Linked DNA regions of Homo sapiens: regions 1 and 3 are each linked to region 2. Evidence: promoter capture Hi-C in 16 types of primary human blood cells and fetal thymus (Javierre and others, 2016). All regions are on one chromosome and are shown on one strand. The core of a region is centred on a gene start or on the middle of the fragment in contact, and the rest is flanking DNA. Distances in the headings are between cores, read along the strand shown.

Region 1 (2,700 bases), core at 4-2,503, 2.1 Mb after region 2:
TGAGGACACAGCTAGAAGGTGCTATGAACCAGGAAGTGGGCCCACACTAGACACTGAATCTGCCAGTACCTTGATCTCAGACTTTCCAGCCTCTAGAACAGTGAGAAATAAATTTGTTAGTTACAGGCTACCTAAAGTTCTTGCTATACTATTATACACCAGCCCAAATAGACCGAGACACTACTGTTCCTTTCCCTGTTTCCTAAAGCCATGAAGGACCCAGATAGGCTTTTATTTTTTTTCCCCTGCAGCTCACTGTGACCTTTCTAGTTTCTCTTCCTCTAACTGGATAATGAATGCCGCAGCCCTGTCCCCTGAGGGGTCCCTTCAGTTAGGTCCCTAAACACACATGCTGGGCTCCCTGGCAGCCAGAGAGGGCAAGTGGGGATTCAGATCCTGCCCCTTCGAGATCTCCCCATGCTAACTAGCACATTCTGCTTCTCCTATGTGTGTGTGTGTGTGTGTGTGTGTGTGTGTGTGTGGGTAACAACATGTATGTCAGAAGGATGGATAAAGTTCTTGCTATGTAAAGTTGCAAAAATAGGTTTTAGCATATTTATTTTGGAAAATCAACCTGTTTTAAAGTTTTATTTTTACTGTACAAAATAGGATTAAATATAAAATGACTTTTGCTCCAAAATATCATTATTTTTGATTTACCAGTCTTCTCATGAGAGGTCCCATTAAAAAAATTACCTTAGTCTAATCTCAATAATGTCAAACTAATTCATATCTGAAATGTGTGCTATTTCATCTTTAATATCCTTAATCTCAGCTTGGACTATTGTTAAATTAGATATTTTTTCACTTAAGAAAGCAATTTCTTTCTCTCTTTGTAGTAAGTCGGTAACCAATCTCCCAATGCGTAGTGTTAAATCATTTACTAATGGTTCTAAACGGGAAAAGTCCTTCTTTAGATTATACACCTTTGGTTTTAGATCATTTGCAAAAGTCACTGTCTTCAGAACTTTGGCTCTGTCACCTTCTAAGCTTAGAAATCTATCTGTATGTTTGTCGAAGTCACTCTTTAGTTCGGTTAGCGTCTTCTTAACAGAGTTAATTCTTTGTGAATTTTCAGATGCTGTCTTTCGGAGCGTTGCTGTTCGATCAATACTGCTTGAAAGAAGATCACCTATATTTTTTACTGTATTTTTTTCTACTTTCTCTATTTTATTTTCTAGTTCTTGCACAGAATCTGTCAATGATATTACATCAGTTACTAAACCTGAAATCCGTCGTATATCTGTTTTTACACTTGTAATCTTGAGACCAACATCTTTTGCCATGGAAGTTGTACTTTGGTCTACTTTTGTAATGTCTTGAGAAAGCGTCGTCAGACTGTTGTTCAGTATATCCTGTTTTTCAGTTATCCTATTGGACCAAGTTTTTACCTCATTAATTTCTTCCTGTAGACGCTTTAGATGAGCAATTATTTGAAAAGACTTCAATTGTTCCATGATAGCTTCAGATTTCTGCCACTATAAGAAAATATAATATCACAATGATTAAATGTATTAGAAGCTTACCATTTAAAATTCATCTTAAATTTTATATTTCTTTTTAATTTTAATTTTTTTTTTGAGACAGAGGCTTGTTCTGTTACCCAGGATGGAGTGCAGTGGCACGATCTTGGCTCACTGAAACCTCCACCTCCTGGGTTCCAGCGATTTTCCTGACTCAGCCTCCCAAGTAGCTGGGATTACAGGCACCCGCCCCCACCTCAGCTAACTTTTTTTGTATTTTTAGTAGAGACGGGTCTTCACCATGTTGGACAGGCTGGTCTCGATCTCCTGACCTCTGGTTATCTGCCCACCTCGGCCTCCTAAATCCATGCCTGGGATTACAGGCGTGAGCCACCACGCCCTGCCTTATGTTATTTTTTAACTACACTTTACTGTTCTTCTGGAAAGCATATGGTAAAAGACGACTTCAGAAGTAAGAGAATTTAGAACAATGTAAGTGAATTACTAATGAATAAGAAGGAAACATTAAGAAAATTTCATGAAATGTCCCTGGAAATTACATTTTTTACATTATAATATTTTCACAATTGGTCTTCTGTACAGTAATAAAATGAGCTACATGAGACAGTGATGTGGTTTTTCAGTTGCTGGAGAAGGGAAAAGGAAGTTTCCTCCAGTTGAGCTTTGCTAGGTGAGACAAGGCAACATAAGTTCTTTTTTATTTCAGCTTTATTAAGGTATAATTGACAAATTAAAATTGTATATATTTATTGTGTACAATGTAATATTTTGATATACATATCTACGCACATATTGTGAATGATTAAATCAAGCTAATGAACATATCTATCACCTCATGTATTTTTTTTTGTAGTAAGAATATTTAAGATCTACTCTCCTAGAAATTCTCTCTTTTTTTTGGAGATGGAAGTCTCACTCACTCTGTACCCAGGCTGGAATGCAATAGCCCCATCTCTGCTGACTGCAACCTCTACCTCCTGGGTTCAAGTGATTCTCCTGCCTCAGTCTCCAGAGTAGATGGTACCACAGTTGTGTGCCACCACGCCTGGCTGATTGTTGTTTAGTAGTGACAGGGTTTCACCATGTTGACTAGGCTGGTCTGAAACTCCTAATCTCAAGTGATTCGCCCGCCTCGACCTCCCAAAGTGCTAAGATTATAAGGCATGAGCCATCGCGCCCGGCCTCTTAGCAATTTTCAAGTATATATTATTATTAT
Region 2 (2,700 bases), core at 129-2,628:
AAAGACTGATTTTTCTAAGCCACCAAATATTTCTGGTTCTTCTCTTAGATAATTTATTGTGTTGCATAATTTATAGAAAAGAAGGTTCTCCATTTTCTCAATACTCATACTTTAATAAATTTAACTCTGACTTTTGCCTATAATACACAGGCTAAGAATAAACTCCCCAAGTATTTCCCTGGAGGTCTGTAGTTTCCCCATCAGAAGTAAAGTCTCCTAAAAGCCCTGTTTAAAATGCAAAGTATTTTGAGAGTTAACACTTCAGGCCACTAGTATGTATTAATGTCCTATGGTTAAGGTTGAGCAAAATGCACATTAATTTAGAATACAGAGATAATTAAAGTAAGGCTGGAATGTGCATAAATAGATGTAATCATAATTATTAGAGGCATAGACATCATGTCCACAGTTACAGACCTCAAGGTACAAATAGAGGAAAGAGAATGGATCAGCTGCATATTCAGTACTCCCTGGCTATCTGTGGGGGACTAGTTCCATGACACCCGCAGATACCAAAATCTGTGGATGCTCAAGCCTCTGATATGAAATGCTGTAGTATTTGCATATAATTTGTGCACATCCTTCAGGATGTTTTAAATCATCTCTAGATAACTAGTAATACCTAATACAGTATAAATGCCATGTAAATAGTTGTATTTTGTGTTATTTTTATTGTTGTATTGTTATTTCTAATTTTGTTCTGAATATTTACAATCTGGAGTTGCTTGAATCCACAGATGAAGAACCCGAGATTTGGAGGGCCAACTGTATTTGATTCTTAAACTGCTTGTCAGATATTTCTCTAATTTCAATTTGATTAATAAGCTTTGTTTTGGGGAGTGATCAATACAGCCTATTCATTTTGAGCACAGGCTTTGGAGTCACAAGTTCCCTTTGGAGGACCTGGTCGCTGACACTACGGTTGTACGCTGACTTTTGTCAAATGACTTAACCTCCTTGAGCTTTGGTTTCCTAAACTGTGAGATGGATATACTAATAGTATCCTAAGTTGTAAAGTAGTTATGATGATTAAATGAGATAAATGAAAGTACATGTTTCAAATGCTTAATGCCTGACACACGTTAATGGTCATGGTCGTCATCATTATCGTTATTAAGTGGCCAACATGGATAAAGAGTATAGTCTGGATTTGTGACCTTAAATTTTTGGCTCTAATATTCGCCAGCGCTCTGCTCAGAACATTCTCTGTTCGCATTTCATACAGCGGTGCCAGCGCACAACCAGGCAACGCCCTCAGGAGCATCATTGTTTTCTGGACCTGGTTCTTTCTCGCTCTGCCCTCCAGGGGCCGCTGTGTTTCTCGGAATGCGCGCGGGATGCCCGGTTGCCACGAGACCGTCGCCAGGCAACCGCGTGTACACATACTCCAGGCGGGCCGGGGCGCGTCAATATGGCGGCGCAGGGCTCCCCCTCGAGCTCTCCGTCAGACGACTCTACCACCTCGGGGTCTCTGCCAGAACTGCCGCCGACCTCCACCGCGACTTCGAGGTCGCCCCCAGAGTCGAAGGGGAGCTCCCGGAGCTCGCTGCTTCAGTGGACCTGCCCCGAGGACTCATTGCCCCTAGCCGTGTTTTATGGGCCGCTGGACGCGAAAAACCCGCTCCTGGCCTCTTGTGAGAAGGAGATCCAGGAGTTGTTAGGCTTTATGAGGAAAAAGAAGGCTTTAGCCACCACGGAGGAAGAGAAGCACGAATTCCGCCGGCGTTGGTAAGCGCTGGCGGGGCACTGGGGAGGGCGCCGGCCAGAGGAGGGACCCCTGGAAAGGGCTGGAGGATGCAGGTGGTGGCCCCAGAGATGGTTCAGCGTTGCGGACGCAGGGGCTGGCTGAAGGGCCCAGGAGAGACAAAGTTTAAGAAGTGGAGACTCGTCGCTCTTAACAATCCTTAATTCCTGGGAGCTGTTATATCTTGGCTTCCTGCTCAGGTCAAAATAAAAATCTACACAGAAATGTTTCATAACTCACCATTTGTTATTTGACCAGAAAAGAAAGATGGTAACATAAGCAGGAAAGAACCTTAAAAAGAGTTCGCAGTTTGCAGTAATAACATGGTGATAGAACTCCCAAAAAGGCAAACAGTTGCGCAGAATGAATAGCAAAATTAAGAAAAAGTCACTGTAATCCTAATAGCAATATAAGAAGGAATTAAAGTGCACATGTTCACAGGATGACATACTTCATTGTATCAAGAGCTAGCTTCATGAACCTGAGCTACCTCGAAGTTATTCCTTTTTCTCCATATACAAATTTATATACTCATAACATGGAAAGTTGTGAAACCCTTGAGCGAGCCAAAAATTTATACATGAATACAAAATACGAAAATTAGCTGGGCATGGTGGCACATGCCTGTACTCCCAGCTACTCAGGAGGCTGAGGCAGGAGAATTGCTTGAACCCGGGAGGCAGAGGTTGCAGTGAGCTGGGATCGCGCCACTACACTCCAGCCTGGGCGACAGAGCAAGACTCCTTCTCAAAAAATAATAATAATAAATAAATAAAATAAAATATTTTTTATTTATGCATATAACAACTATTTATTGAGCACATACTGTATATCAAGTGCTGTTCAAGGAACTAGGAAAACATCAAGTTAACAAAACATATAAGAATCCATGTCCTTATAGAGCATATGTTTTTGTGGGTATAAACAACCACTAAACAAATATGTAAGTAAATAAT
Region 3 (2,700 bases), core at 185-2,684, 2.1 Mb after region 2:
CAAAGTGCTGAGATTACAGGCATGAGCCACCGCACCTGGTCGCCTTGACTGCTTTGCTGTATCTGCAAGACTGTACTTTCTAAAAATCAAACTCAAAATCTAATTCTGAATTACAATGCAAATTGAATTCCCAATCTCATAGTGTTTAAAGTTAGGGCAATGTTTTGAGACCCAAAATTTTGGAATAGTGACACCTGGGCAGATTATGATTCCACTAGGACCATGAACCCCCATATTCTTTTTTTTTTTCTTTTTTGAGACAAGATCTCTAACTGTTGCTTAGGCTGGAGTACAATGGCGCGATCTCGGCTCACTGCTACCTCTGCTTCCCAGGCTCAAGTGATCCTCCCTCCTCAGCCTCTTGCGTAGCTGGGACTGCAGGGGCATGCCACTATGCCTGGCTTTTTTTTTTTTTTTTTTTTAAGAGACAGGGTTTCACCATGTTGTCCAGGCTGGTTTTTAACTCCTGGACTCAAGAGATCCACCTACCTCGGCTTCCCAAAGTTCTGGGATTATAGGCGTGAGCCACCATGCCCAGCCAGAACCCCTAAATTCTGTTGAGCCTCCTTGTCAGTCAAAGAAGCCCTTCCTCTCCTGTCTGAGGAGGTTATGTTCCTCGTCCCTGTGAAATCTGTAATGGCCTCACCTGAGGTGGTTGCCTGGCGGGATCTGCTGATTCTTCTTAAAACCTACTGTCCACTTTGGGAGGCCGAGGCAGGTGGATCACCTGAGGTTGGGAGTTCGAGACCAGACTGACCAACATGGAGAAACCCCATCTCTACTAAAAATACAAAATTAGCCGGGCATGGTGGCGCGTGCCTGTAATCCCAGCTACTCCGGAGGCTGAGGCAGGAGAATTGCTTGAACCCGGGAGGCAGATTTGAATCTCCACAGTGGAGAGTTATGGTCCTTCAGGCAATTTCCCTACTTGTGTCAGGTTGGAGGCCGAGAGCCTCTTGAATGTTAAGGAGGCCAACCCCCTTGTCTTAGTCCATACCTGCTGCAATAACATCACCTAAAGACGGATAAAAGGATTTTGTATCCTCTTTTGGGTAGAATTAGCTTGTTCACAATTGTCCAAGGGACAGCTGCTTCATGTTAGGTAGAAGTCTGATTTTGCTCTTTAGTTTTTGTCTGGAAGTTAAATATGATTACAAGAGGTGTTCATTGATGCCATGTTGACAACCGATAGACTCTGGTACTTTTTTTGTTGCTGTTGTTAATTAGTTTTTATTTCATAATCATAAACTTAACTCTGCAATCTAGCTAGGCATGGAAAGGAACAAGGAAAACATAGAACCCAAAGGGAACTGCAGTGAGAGCACAAAGATTCTAGGATACTGCGAGCAAATGGGGTGGAGGGTGCTCTCCTGAGCTACAGAAGGAATGGTCTGGTGGTTAAGATAAAACACAAGTCAAACTTATTAGAGTTGCCCACAGTCAGCAATGGTGATCTTCTTACTGGTCTTGCCATTCCTGGACCCAAAGCACTCCATGGTCTCCACAATATTCATGCCTTCTTTCACCTTGCTGAAGACCACATGCTTGCCATCCAACCACTCAGTCTTGGCAGCACAGATGAAAAACTGGGAACTGTTTGCGTTGGGTCCAGCATTTGCCATGGACAAGATGCCAGAAACTGTATGCTTCCGGATGAAGTTCTTGTCATCAAATTTCTCCCTGTAGATGGACTTGCCACCAGTGCCATCATGGCATGTGAAGTCTCCACCCTGACACATAAACCCTGGAACAATTCTGTGAAAGCAGGAACCCTTATAGCCAAATCCTTTCTCTCCAGTGCTCAGAGCATGAAAGTTTCCTGCTGTCTTTGGAAACTTGTCTGCAAACAGCTCAAAGGAGATGCGGCCCAAGGGCTCCGTGTCAAAGAACACGGTGGGGTTGACCATGGCTGATAGCACAGGGCTCCTGGCAGCAGCGGTGCCTGCAAAGCCCAGTGGTGTTTTTTTTACCATGTCAACTTAGCTAGGCTAGAACCACATTTCCTAGATTCCTTTCCCTGCATAGTTTTGGGTTAGGGCTAGCTATAAGAGAAATGTGTGCAGTTTGGAAGGCAGAAGTGGAGCAACAGTCATTACATTCTGAAGGTCACCAGCTCCCACATGGGGTAGGAGCTGGGCCTGCAGCTCCTTCAGTTACCACTGTATCTTCTAGATCAACTTCTGTGAGTTCTGGGCCACGAGCATGTGCAGCCCCATGGTGAAGGGTACCAGCTGTTCCAGCTGAAAAAATGTGCAGCAAAGGGTCACGGTATTACCCGGTGCTGGGGGAAGGGAATAGGAAGATTCACTACAGTCATATATTTTTACATAATATTTGACTTTTTCATGACAAAGGATTTTTAAATTAGAAAAGCACCATAAAGTTGAATTAACCAAAAAAGAGAGAGAGAAAGTCCAGACCCTTCAGTGACTACCTCTGTCTACATAAGATCAGACTCCTCAGTCTGGTATGTGAGGCCCTGGACAATCAGGTGCTAGTGTACTTTTTTAACTTTATCTGTCACTACTTCCCTTCCTGTGCCCTCCACTCTGGAATTCTTCCTGGGACTGTAGGACTTTAGTTGGGCCAGAAGGGCTGGGTCTGGGATAGGGTTGCTTAGAGAGTGCCGTGATGCCGCAGCCTCAATGCTAACTTTTGTTTTTTTGTTTTTTTTTTTTTTTGAGACGGAGTCTTGCTCTG

Evidence for each region. Contacts are between HindIII fragments. The CHiCAGO score rates a contact against its expected background, and 5 or more counts as called.
Region 1: a fragment that was not itself captured here is called in contact with the fragment with the promoter of CFAP54 in region 2 in 1 of 17 cell types (M0 macrophages); the score reaches 5.0 in M0 macrophages.
Region 3: a fragment that was not itself captured here is called in contact with the fragment with the promoter of CFAP54 in region 2 in 1 of 17 cell types (naive CD4 T cells); the score reaches 5.6 in naive CD4 T cells.

Annotation. Positions count from the first base shown.
Region 1 is chr12:98,612,863-98,615,562 of GRCh38, forward strand. It overlaps a transcript of IKBIP not described here. Among named protein-coding and RNA genes, the nearest start is that of SNORA53, 15 kb to the left of the region's middle. RefSeq lists an enhancer at 1-136. The HindIII fragment of the contact is 531 bases long and covers 989-1,519 here.
Region 2 is chr12:96,488,199-96,490,898 of GRCh38, forward strand. CFAP54 (cilia and flagella associated protein 54) reads left to right here and starts at 1,379. Exons shown (of 68, transcript NM_001306084.2): 1 at 1,379-1,728. The coding sequence starts at 1,412. RefSeq lists a silencer at 1,233-1,527 and an enhancer at 1,418-1,627. The HindIII fragment of the contact is 3,410 bases long and covers 824-2,700 here.
Region 3 is chr12:98,589,299-98,591,998 of GRCh38, forward strand. It overlaps the pseudogene PPIAP8. Among named protein-coding and RNA genes, the nearest start is that of SLC25A3, 3.0 kb to the right of the region's middle. The HindIII fragment of the contact is 4,505 bases long and covers 1-2,700 here.